Linked DNA regions of Homo sapiens: regions 1 and 3 are each linked to region 2. The links are contacts of gene promoters, found by promoter capture Hi-C in blood cells and fetal thymus (Javierre and others, 2016). All regions are on one chromosome and are shown on one strand. The core of a region is centred on a gene start or on the middle of the fragment in contact, and the rest is flanking DNA. Distances in the headings are between cores, read along the strand shown.

Region 1 (4,046 bases), core at 413-2,912, 2.4 Mb before region 2:
TGGTGTCCTGGATATAAACAGCTTAGATCACCAAAGGTGGTCCATGAAGGTAAATTGAAATAGAGTTTTACTGGTGTGGACAAAATTGAAGTATAGTTGATAGGTGGTCTTCCTACACAGTGTACAGTCTTACCAGCTTTCAGACATCAGAACTTTCTTATTTATGGTTTTGTACTTCCCAGAAATGATCCCATCTCAGGCTTTCTACATCTTTTGCTCAGGAAGAAACTCATTTCTGACTTTCTCAACTTTTTTTCTGCTATTTTGCATCAGTCTTTTCTTAAACTGAATCATTTGACAATATGATTCAATGTGTCCTTGAAACCATTTTTCTTAGCCCTTGCTTTCTTTTCTTACTTTCTTTGCCACTTTACTGAGTCACACACTTTGGTGACTAAGTTCTTTATTTTTTGTTTTGTTTTAAAGTTTCTATTACTACCAGCTTGAAAAAGAAAGATGAAAAAAAGTAGCAAATACAATTATTGAAGCAGTACAAGTTTTTGCAATGAATGGCTTAATAAATACATCAATACTGCTTATTTTAGTGAATCATTAGGACACATGTAGTGCAGGAGTTCATACTGCTTAGTCCCAGAACCCACATACAAGGAGGACTAGCTTCTACCTGGTGTGCCAAAATAAAGGAAAGTGCTTCTGTGTCAGGCCCTCAACCTGGAAGAAAACTATTTTAATTCAATGTTTGATAATCTATTGAATGCCTATGAATCAGACATTGTGTTGGGTACTTGAAGTACAGATATGAACTGATTTGTCCCTTGTCTAGTAACAGAAAGGAAGTGAATGAGTAAGTGAAGAAGTACACTAAAGTGTTAGAGGGCTGGGTGCAGTGGCTCACGCCTGTAATCCCAGCACTTTGAGAGGCCAAGTTTGAGGCTGCAGTGACTTCCCACTACACTCCAGCCTGGATAACAGAGCGAGACTCCATCTCTTTAAAAAAAAGTGTTAAAAGGAGGAAACTAAGCTTTGCTGATATCAGCTATGAGCCAGGCACTATGTTAGAAGGAATGGGCCTCTTTAAAAAGGGAAACGTGTTCTTAGTGCTGTTTTTTAAGGTGATATGTTGAGTTGAGTTGTGCCAAAGCAGGAAGTATTTTCCTTACCATCAAGCAAAGCCAATTACTTCATCCTCTTTGTTCTCAAGAATTTTGTTTCAGAAAAGCCTTTTGGTTCCTCAAGGTACTCAAGGGATCAACATTATGTTATAAAATAGCAATCTAGATGTTTCTGAAAGATAATTCATGAAATAAATATTTATTTTCCATCTGCTTTGTGCCAAGTTCTGCTTTAGCTGCTGAAAATCTTTCAACAATCAAGACAGAAGAAGTCTCTGTCCTGCTAGAGGCTACTGTCTAACAGTGAGAAACAAGTGACAGAGGAGTGAAAAAGCAAACCAAGATATTTCCCAGTGGTGATAAGTGTTATCAAGAGAAGCAGGTGGGGTCATGTTATAAAGTAACTGGGTGTGAGGGCAATGTAGCTTGGAAGTCAGGGATGCTTCTTTGTAGAGGTGACATTTAAACTGAGTTGTGACTGAAAAATAGGAACCAGCTATACAGAGAGTGTAAAGGCCCTACCGAGAGGATGAGCTTGGCAAGTTGGGGGAACAGAAAGAATGCTTGATGTCTGTGCAGTGACTGAGGAAAGTAGGCTAGATGAGAGCTCAGAGAACATGGGGAACCAGATGACAGGGGTTATGGGAGGAGCTGGATTTGACTCTTAAGGCAATGGGAAGCCACTGAGAAGTTTTAACCAGAGGCATGGCGTTATCTAATTTGTGTTCCTAACAGCTTCCATTGAGTACTGTGTGTGAACGAATCAAAGCGGAGCAAAGAAGAAAGCAGGAGGACCAGTTACAAAACCACTTCTTGGAGGGGAGGTATGGTCCAGGCAAATGAGGGTATTTGTGGCTTGGGACAGCAGAGTGAATAGAGAAAAACTTTTAATATATACAGTCACAATATAAGAATACTGCCTTGGTGAAAAGTAATCTTTCTCGTGTACCAGATACCAGACGAAGTCTCTGATTCTCGGTATTTCTTAACCATAAGCATTCTAAATCAACTTGCTTTTTCATCCATAAAAGGGCATGAGCTCCTTAAACACAGGGCTTTTGCTTTTCTTGTCAGTCTCACTAGTCTAGGAAGTGCTGTTCTATATTCAGCAGCTCGTGGGTGCTGAATAAATATTGATTAAACAAACCGAGTAATGAATCATGTGTGCTGCAAGTGTGGGTGCTTGGTAACGTGGAAACATACAAGTGAGCTGGATTCTCCAATCTGCAGGGCAGAAACTGGATGAAAGACATTTAGAGGTGGGGGTGGGAAGCTTGGAGCGGCCCCTCTCCTTCCATCCCTCAATGCCTTGGGATTGGGGTGGTCATTCTATGACCACTTCACATTGACTCCGTGGAGATTGACTCCACACACCCCAGAGGAGCCTCACCCACTGCTGAAGGGAGAGCTGATGAAATGACATGCTTGCTGACTGCATGGACACTTCCTGTTGGTGCGCCACGTCCCTAAAATGTGACATAGGCTGTGGGTGAAGCAGGTAACATCAGAGATTTACAGACACGCCTATATTCCACAAAGAGTGTGAGGATAAAAACCAAAAATGCATGCAGTTGTACTCTATGTCAGCCAACTTTTTCTGTAAAGCGTCAAAGAATAAATCTTTTCCGGCTGAATGTCTCTGTTGCTTCTACTGCAACTCTGTTGCAACCCTGCCTTTACATCATGAAAGCAGCCACTGACAAGAGGTCAAGGAATGGTGTCCGTGTTCAATAAAACTTTCTTTATGGGTATCAGAATTTGAATTTCAGATAATTTTAATGTGTTTTGAAATATCATCTTTTTTTCCCTAAGCTATTTTAACAACCATAAAAACCATTCTTAGCTCATGGGACATAAAAAATAGGCAGCAGGTCACCCATGGGCGACAGTTTGCCAAGCTGTACTCTGTAGAGCAGTTAAAATGAGGAACAATCTCCACTATTATTCAAAAATAGGCAATTTTATGTAGAGATAATATCTAACACTATCCTTTTGTTTGTCAGTTGCTTAATGCAAATTAAAATTTAGCCATTTGGAGGATGTGACATTTGCTGATAGTAAGGATTAGGTAGCATTGAAAATCTCTTGGGCAGAGATTAATTGGAAATGATTCTTTGGATCACACTCCCCACTTTGTCTAGGCCTTGTTTTGTGTTTTCCACACAGAGCCCAGATGAACTTTTAATATTTAGGAATCCACACTCAGTCATTTGTTTTCCTTCTTGAAACACTCCTGTGACTTGCCCTTGCCTATAGTTAGAATAAGATGCAAACGCCTTATCCTGTCCAGCCATACCAATCTCCAATCTTGGAGCTCTTCAGGGCCTTTGCACCAGCTACCCCTTTAGCCTGAAACATGCTTTCCCCAGCATGGCTGATCCTTCTTGAGAACTCAGAACTCAGCTTAAATGTCGCCTTCTTAGAGAGGCTTGTCCCTGGTCACCTAGACCAACACAGCTCTTACCCTACTCAGATTCTATCATCAGATTCTGCCTAGTTTTATTTTCCTCATAGAATTGGTCTTTATCTGAATTATCTGGTAAATTAATTGGTTTACCTTTTTGTTTGGAATAAGTAAATCTTTAATAAGTAAACCCACCAAAAGGTAAGCTCCCTTAGAACCCCAGGTGATTTCTGTCTAATCACTCCTGTCTCCATTCATCAAATAATGCCCAGTATTCAGTATTATACATCATGTATTTGCTGAATGAATAAAGGAAGGAAATGGTTTGGGGTGTGTTATAGAATAGTATGTTTGGAACTGTGCTGATCTTTTACCCCAGTTGGGAATGAGGGTGACGGTGTATGATGGGCCGGGATGGGGTGGGAGAGGGTAGGCTATGGCTTTGAGAAATGGGCAAGGACCACATCTCGAAGCAGGCATTGGGTCATGCCGAGGTGATTGCACTTCATTTTGAAGGCAGTGGGGGAGCCACAGAAGGGTTTTAAGCAGCCATGGAATAAAATAGTTCA
Region 2 (3,735 bases), core at 893-3,392:
ACAGCCATTAGGCTGATGCCCTCTGGGTTGGATTTAGGTGGTTTTTGATCAAGGGGCACTTTAAAATGGCAGTGCTTCTGCTCTGTCAATAGTAGGATATGCCAACCCAAAATATGGCACTTTGGCATAAAGATTATTTTCGAGTCAAAGGCACTTAAAAAAAAAATGCAAAAAGAGCACTGTGGCTTTCCTTTTTCCTTCCTGAAAGCAGGAGATAAAACTTCCGTATGAAAGGTGCCCTCCCTGTATAAGGAGGAAGGGAGATGTTCTCAACACCAGAGACATGGAGTCAAAGCTGAGCTGTATCTGCACAAACTTACCGATTTTCATTTCCACTTTGTTACAACAACCTTTATCTTCTTAGTCACTTCTGCATTAACTGCACTAACCCAAATCTGTTTGTTTTCTCACATTTTCACAATTTACTACTCTTTTTAGCCTTCCCTAGAAAAATGGAGACTCAAAAGCACTTAGGGTCCAACTGTTAATTTGGGTCTCCATTTTTCTAGGGAAGGCTCCAATGTAAATGTAAAAATTACTAAATAAAATTTGTATGCTTTCCTCCTGTTATGTTTTATGTCTCTATTTTACGTCAGTGGAGACTAAGCTCTGATTTTTTTTTTAATCTTGCTCAAATTCCTATCTAAGGGGCCTAGGGATTCATGCCCTACAATCCATAAATTCTCATCAGATGGGTTTTATTTAACCCTATATATTGTGACTTACTTTCCAATCTGACACTGGCATAACGAGACAAGAAACAAAATCAAAATATTTTACCGCAAAACATTTTTTTTAGTTTTTGACATATCTTGAAACGGCTCTGCAAAGCTGTCCTTTGTTGGGGGAAAATCTGCATCTACATAGAATTTCTATTAACATAGCTAGATCATTTTCTTCCAGGTCCTCCCAATCCTAAAGAGATTACGTAAGAATCTAGCACCTTTTAAAGATCTGAATAGGAAACATTTGTCATCCATTGTCTCTAAGGGCAGCCACTATAAGACTTCAAAAGAACCTTGGTCTCCACAATCTTTTATTTTAACCTCAACATTTCCTTTCTATGGGTCCCAGGTCTTCAACTGTCAACCAGAAAATGTTTAAATTTACCTACAGCCTTGGAAGCCCCTGCTTTGAGTTGTCCCACCTTTCTGAACCAAACCAATGTAGTTCTTAAATTTATTTGATTGATGTCTCATGCCTCCCTAAAATACATAAAACCAAGCTGCGCCCCAACCACCTTGGACACATGTTCTCAGGACCTCCTGAGGGCTCTGTCACGGGCCATGGTCACTCACATTTGGCTCAGAATAAATCTCTTCAAATATTTTAGAGTTTGACTCTTTTCCTCATCAGTTTAATTCTTAGGCCCAGCCAAGACCCCAAGAGGGGAGAGGAAATATTTTCACTTTCCCTACACCAGTGTTAAGAAGCCCAAGAACGCAATTCAGAGGGCTTCCCAAATCATTTTGAAGAATGGTAACATCTCTAGAATATCAATTAGATCGTAGGGGAGTACATAAGTCATGTGTACACCTTTAGGTGTTTGTGAAAACCAAGGCATATAAAATATCACATTATTTGGCCTCAGTACATTCCCATACTGACAAGCACTGTACCATTTTTCCCCCGCTCTAAGCAAGGGCTTCCTGGGGGGAAGAGTCTGTGGTTGGGTGTTCAGAAGCAGAGAGTGCTCTCCCAAAGCTAAACGATGCCGCCAACTACTGTGAAACTTAACTTCCCCTCTCCCGGAATTCTCATGGAAGACAAGGTCTGATCAACCGAGGGCTTAAGAAGTATCAAATTGGAACTCATGGAATCACTGGCGGAGCTGATTTACATATGAGAATTCCTAAGCCTCACAGCATAGAAATTTTCATGCCAGATGGTCCTGAAAAAGTTGTTTTAATTGGCTACCAAAGGTTTACCTTGCAAACACCAAGTTCTTAAAGATTACAAAATCTAATAAAGCCGAAGTGTGAATTAAACTTAACCGCAAGAGGAGTCACCTGCGGTCACCTCGTTTCGCCCACAACAAAGATGTCTGCGCATCGCTTACCGTGGAGCCGTTCCAGTGCGTGGGCCACGCGTCCGCCCTTTTCCGCGTCACATGACCACGAACACTCTTCCGCTACGGCTCCCAGAAGGGGCCAGCCCGCGCCTTTCGCGCTTCTGCCCTGGCCCTCTGCGGGCCGCTCCGCCGGTGCTGTCCCTGGGCGCCTCCGTGCTCTCAGCCAACCACCTCTGAGAGCGCCCACTCGAGCGCCCCGGGAGCCAGAGGGCGGGGGTCCTCGCCGGGACCCTCCTGTGGGCCCAGGGGTGAGTGTTGACGTCTTCCCGACCCGCGACCTGCCGCCCGAGCTGGCTGCCAGGCCTATCGCCGCCGCCGAGACCCTCCGGCCAACAGGGACCCGCGGTGGCCCCGGCCCCCCCGGTAGTGTCTCCCTGACCCGAGTCCCGTCCCCGGGCCTCTTGCCTTCAACCCTGGTCTTTCCTCCTCCCCGGGACCTTGAGTCCCCGAGGAGAGCGAGGGAGAGGAGCGTCTTCTGCAGGTGTTTTTGGGCGAACCTCTTCACCTTGTGTGGTTCGGCGTCTCCTTTTGTGTATTAACCCGGACTTTTCCGACTGGAAAATAGGGGTTTGGGAAGCAGCGGGAGTCCCGTGAGCGTGAACGCCGGGCTTTGCAGGTCTTCACTCATCCTTCCCTGCCAAGGCCCTGACACCTTACAGGCTGACCTTAAACCTGCCTTGTTTAAAAGGAGGTTTTTGTGTTGTTTTGTGGCAAGTACATTTTGGAAAAGAAGGGCCTTGTTGGAAGCCCAGGTTGTGGCATCGCGGGTGGCTGCGGGCCACCCTGTCCGTCTGTGAGCATCCCTGCTCGCAGATGTGGCTGCAGGCAGTTGCTCTCGGGTTTCCTTCCAGGAGCTGGGAAGCCGGAGGAAAGCTGCGGTTCCTGTTCCGCCGAGCTTCTGACCTTCCTCTGCAGGACGTGTGCTACTATTACTATCGTAAAAGAACACCCCTGTCTACCTCCCACAAAGTTAGAAGCAAAGGGCATTCTCGAGGGAAGAGCACCCTTTCAAAAGTGACATGTTTTCATTGGAGAACATTAAAGGGGAAAAAAAAAAAAAAGGTTTCTGGCCCTTCTGCCCAAATATAGAACCATTTGTATTCAGGCCTCTCATCCACCGAGAGACTTAAGATGATCACAAATGTTTTGTCTCCCTGCGTGAAAAACATTTTTTCTGCCTCAATTCCGTTGGCTAATGAGAGCCCAAAAGAAAAACCCTTAGGAAAATTAGGACGATTTAGTTATACTTAGTAGTCTTTTCCCATGCAATTAAATTGCTTGGGGGACCTTCTATCTTTTGGTTTCAAAGGCTTGTATATTGGTTTTGCCATTTTTTCCAAAAGGAAATTGTGTTCTCTCCCTTCCTGTCTGATAGAGCTGCCTCCTTTCAGAATTGCAAAGTTTAGTCTTCGCTCTCCTCTCTTCTGGTATTGAAACTTTTCTGTGGGTTCATAACCTTATTTTAAAGTTCATTAATATATAGTTTTAAAAGTTTGCAGTGACTTTTTAAATATAGTTTCTTTGAAAAAGAACTGAAACAGGGTGTGCAGAGTGGCCCATCTGTGTGAACTAGGTCCACGCAGTAGGTAATAAACAACTGGAGGGTTTTTTTTGGTTTGTTTTTGTTTGTTTGTATGTTTGTTTTTGAAAAGTACATAAACATT
Region 3 (3,646 bases), core at 701-3,200, 2.3 Mb before region 2:
AAAAAAAAAAAAATCCCTCCTACTCTCAACTCTTGAATGCCACCAAGTTCAGAGGGGAGAAAATTCTTCCTTCTAGGAATTCCTCACGCTCACGTAAACATGTTTACATATTCATTACTTCTCAATCAAAGCTCTTTGGTTGGTCAAAGGTTCCGCTTCTTACTCAAAGCTCTCTAAAATATCAAAAGTGGTATTATTGGAGGTCTGAAGAGTTAGGAAACATCAAAGAAGGGAAATGGAATTTACTGAAATAAATACTTTCCCCTCTTTACCCCTTACACTTTCTGGGTGGGTAGGAAGGGAGAAAACCTCCTGGTTAAGTATAATCACTTCCGGCAGGATGCTTTCTCTTTAAAATGAGTTAATAACAAAATTAGATACAATTAAAAAGGAGTTGCAAAGGAGTTTTTGTCTAATAATAGAGTAAATATAAAGGCATTAAAAGTGCATGTAACTAAAGTGGTAAGCTCCAGTCTAGGAAATAGATGAACGGCTTTGGGCTAAAACTGACCAAATGATTATTTGATCTCTAGTAAATGCTTCCTTTCCATCATCTGACTCTATGTAGATCTCATCCTTCTGGTTATCTGAAGCCTTCCATTGCACTAACCCACCTAAAACATTCCATAAATAAAACTCCATTTCTCTCAAAGTGACAGATCTGATGGGGTGTTTGCAAAAAGTTTACCTATACTTTTTTTAAAAAGTCTTTTCTTTTGAAATGCTCTCAAATACAATATATATGCAGAAAAGTGCACAAATCCTAAATGTATATCTTAATGAATTATAGAAAGCTATCTAAATGAACTAATTCATGCTAGGGTACAGATACACTTCATTCATTTTAAAAGATGAGCTTCTTATCAAAAAGGAATTTCTAATTAGTGGCATTACAACTTTGAAGCCAACATGGTATGTATATTCAACCAATGTAATAAAACACTCCAGTTCTGATATGAGACAAATGTTTCTAATCATTTTCGGGCTGAAATTCTACCCTAGAGAAGCTTGCTTTATGAAACAATCAGGAATGAGATTTCAGGAAATTATGAGAACTTGACATGATCCTTTGAATTGATCTTCGAATGAGTTGTCTTTCATTTATTTTCTATGGGGAATTTTAGGATAATGAAGGAGCAAATATTTCTCCTTTTGAAATGTATGTTTTTGTTCATTACTGTTCTTGGGAGGGGTGAAGAATAAGGTGGTTCGTGTCTAGGAGTCTGCAAGTACATAAGCCTACTACATACAGTGCTTTGGGTAAAAACTGACATCAAATTTGCTTTGGCATACACCTGTATTGTCCTCAACAACTGCCTTAAAATTTGGCTTTCCCAGTCATTACCCTCACTCAGCATCTCCTTGATCTCTCCTCTCCATATTCAAACACATTTTGAAGGCTTCCTGTCTTCTCTCTCTCTCTCTCTCTCTCTCTCTGTATACACACCCCATTCTCAGGGAAGAAAACTATCTTGTTAACCTGACAACCTTACCTAAACTTATTGGAGAGAGCAGAATTCAAACCCTATGGCAATCTTTTGGCAATGTCCTGGAGGATTTGTGTCCCCAAGACAGGGATTTCAGAAAGGGGAATATACAAATCTAGCAGTAAGATACTTTTTCTCAGCAGGAGTTTCTAGTCTCTTTCAAATACCTTGCAATAGAGGATGGCTTGCTCCAATACACACCCGCGGTTCTATGAGTCTGTACTGAAGTCGGATATCCATAATATTTTCCCCAACATCCTATCATTTTTCTCCCTTGACAACCATGTTTTGAGAACTTGAAGCAACAGATATGAAGAGTCTTAAGGGATTGCATCAATGTACGCTAAGATTAGTCTCTACCACATAGTCCAATGACACGGTTTTAGGTTCAGAAGGGATGCTCTACACCCACAGAATCCCACCGAGTTCAGGTGCCAGCTCAGAGAACTCATCACCTTCCTGTTTCCCTTCAAGAGTTAACTGATGGGATAGTATGCAAAGCACATGCGTTCTTGCTGCCAAAATAGCAGCCAAAACTGCCTGCCTAGATGTGTAAGATCCCATGAAATGTCTTGGCAAAAGCTAGTTTAGGAGTGTTGGCCAAGGTGCTGAAGCGAAGCAAGGGGAGTCAGGACCACCTTTGCCACTGAATCTCCCCTCCCCCACCTCTTTTTAAAGACAGCGAGCTTATTCATTTTGACAAGATACCCTAGGATTTCAAATCTGACATAATTTTGGAGAAAGCAGTGCGTGTGTGTGTGTGTGTGTGTGTGTGTGTGTGTGGTGTAGAAGGGTATCTGGGATACATAATCTTTATAGAAATTCTAGTGCCACAAAAATTCTAGGAGGATCTACATTTAAAAAAACACACAACAGTTTAAGCTGTTTATTCCAATTGAACGCTGTGTGTTTCCATCAGATCCTCAGTGAGATTCAGTCCAATGAGTCAATTGCAAAATAAAGTTTTTGTCAAGGGAATGGCAGAAAATGACAAAACCACAATTCTGAATGATCATTCAAAAGTAAAAAGTACTTTCTACTACTGTGTGGAGATTTTCTTATCTCTACTTTTACTCGAATTGAATCTTTTCTTCTAATGTTCTTTTGAACAGTTTGTCTTTGGTGTCCTGAAAATGTGCACGCTGATAGCAGTACCACATGCTGTCCCTGGCACAGAGTGAGCTAACAGTTGAACCACCTCTGGGTAACTGCGGACTGCAGCTAGTGTAAGTGCAAGAGAAGGCACCCTGGCCACCAATTCGTTTCACACTCCAATCACCCCCGCCCGCTCTACACCCCCTGGGCACCCGATGCCTCTTCCCTCTGCCAGGCAATTTGCTTCCGTTCTGTTCAACTTTCCGACCTCTGGCTTTAGAGAATAGTCCTGGCTGTGGGAACTGGCTCTGGGAAGCTTTTGGCGCCCTCCTCATTGGTGACTGGCAAGAGTAACACTTTCACACTCTTAAAAAGAGCCGTTTAGTTCCTAATGATATTTTCTGGCAAAAAAGAAAATGAAACACACAACCCGGATTCCGGTCCACCAAACGCAGGCCAAGAGCGCGGCTGCTGAGCCCCGGTCTTGCTGTGAGGCTGTTGTTCCCACTCGCTTCCCGTTTCCACTAGAGTTGATTTGTCTCTTGCCACCTCTCCCCGGCAGTGTGGACCTACTGCAACGCAGGAACATCTGGGTTGGTATGGATAGGATCCTAGCATCAGATGCTGGCTGCTGCCCCAGGGACTTCCCGCGGAAATCACCCAGCACTTAGAAGCCGTTTCAATAAGGAAGTAACCAGTAAAGCATTGCTGGTGGGAGAACCCCGCGAAACATCTTAGAAAAATATCAGAAACCGCTGGAGACCTAATGACCCACGTCTCCTCCAGCCTGTGTTCCTCAGCCCTTTCTGGAGGAGTATTAAGTGGTTTGTGGGTTTTTACCCTGCGGTGGGAGGGCTGTTCCAAGTACATCTATTTCTGCGATAGTTAACGTCGGGGGGCCCCAGCTCTAACCAGGGCGAGGACCACGGACTGCATCCCTCTCTCTCAGCGCACTGGTCTGTTTACTGGAGGGTGAGAGGGACGCGCAGACCTCCGGACTCAGGGGTTCTGTTCTGTAGATCCCCCCACCCCACCCGGGGTCTCTGGCACTCGTATCACTTAGC

What was found. The method cuts DNA at HindIII sites, captures the fragments that hold promoters and counts their contacts. A CHiCAGO score of 5 or more calls a contact.
Region 1: a fragment that was not itself captured here is called in contact with the fragment with the promoter of MFF in region 2 in 1 of 17 cell types (total CD4 T cells); the score reaches 5.6 in total CD4 T cells.
Region 3: a contact is called between a fragment that was not itself captured here and the fragment with the promoter of MFF in region 2, in 1 of 17 cell types (M2 macrophages). The highest score is 6.5, in M2 macrophages.

Annotation. Positions count from the first base shown.
Region 1 is chr2:224,925,583-224,929,628 of GRCh38, forward strand. All of the region lies in intron 2 of DOCK10 (dedicator of cytokinesis 10), which reads right to left. Among named protein-coding and RNA genes, the nearest start is that of MIR4439, 83 kb to the right of the region's middle. The HindIII fragment of the contact is 1,364 bases long and covers 981-2,344 here.
Region 2 is chr2:227,323,109-227,326,843 of GRCh38, forward strand. It overlaps MFF (mitochondrial fission factor), which reads left to right and starts at 2,143. Exons shown (of 9, transcript NM_001277062.2): 1 at 2,143-2,319. MFF-DT (MFF divergent transcript) reads right to left here and starts at 2,056. Exons shown (of 14, transcript NR_102371.1): 1 at 2,010-2,056. RefSeq lists an enhancer at 1,965-2,014 and a silencer at 2,195-2,484. The HindIII fragment of the contact is 6,653 bases long and covers 1-3,735 here.
Region 3 is chr2:225,038,277-225,041,922 of GRCh38, forward strand. All of the region lies in intron 1 of DOCK10 (dedicator of cytokinesis 10), which reads right to left. Among named protein-coding and RNA genes, the nearest start is that of DOCK10, 2.4 kb to the right of the region's middle. RefSeq lists an enhancer at 2,899-3,238. The HindIII fragment of the contact is 1,891 bases long and covers 1,006-2,896 here.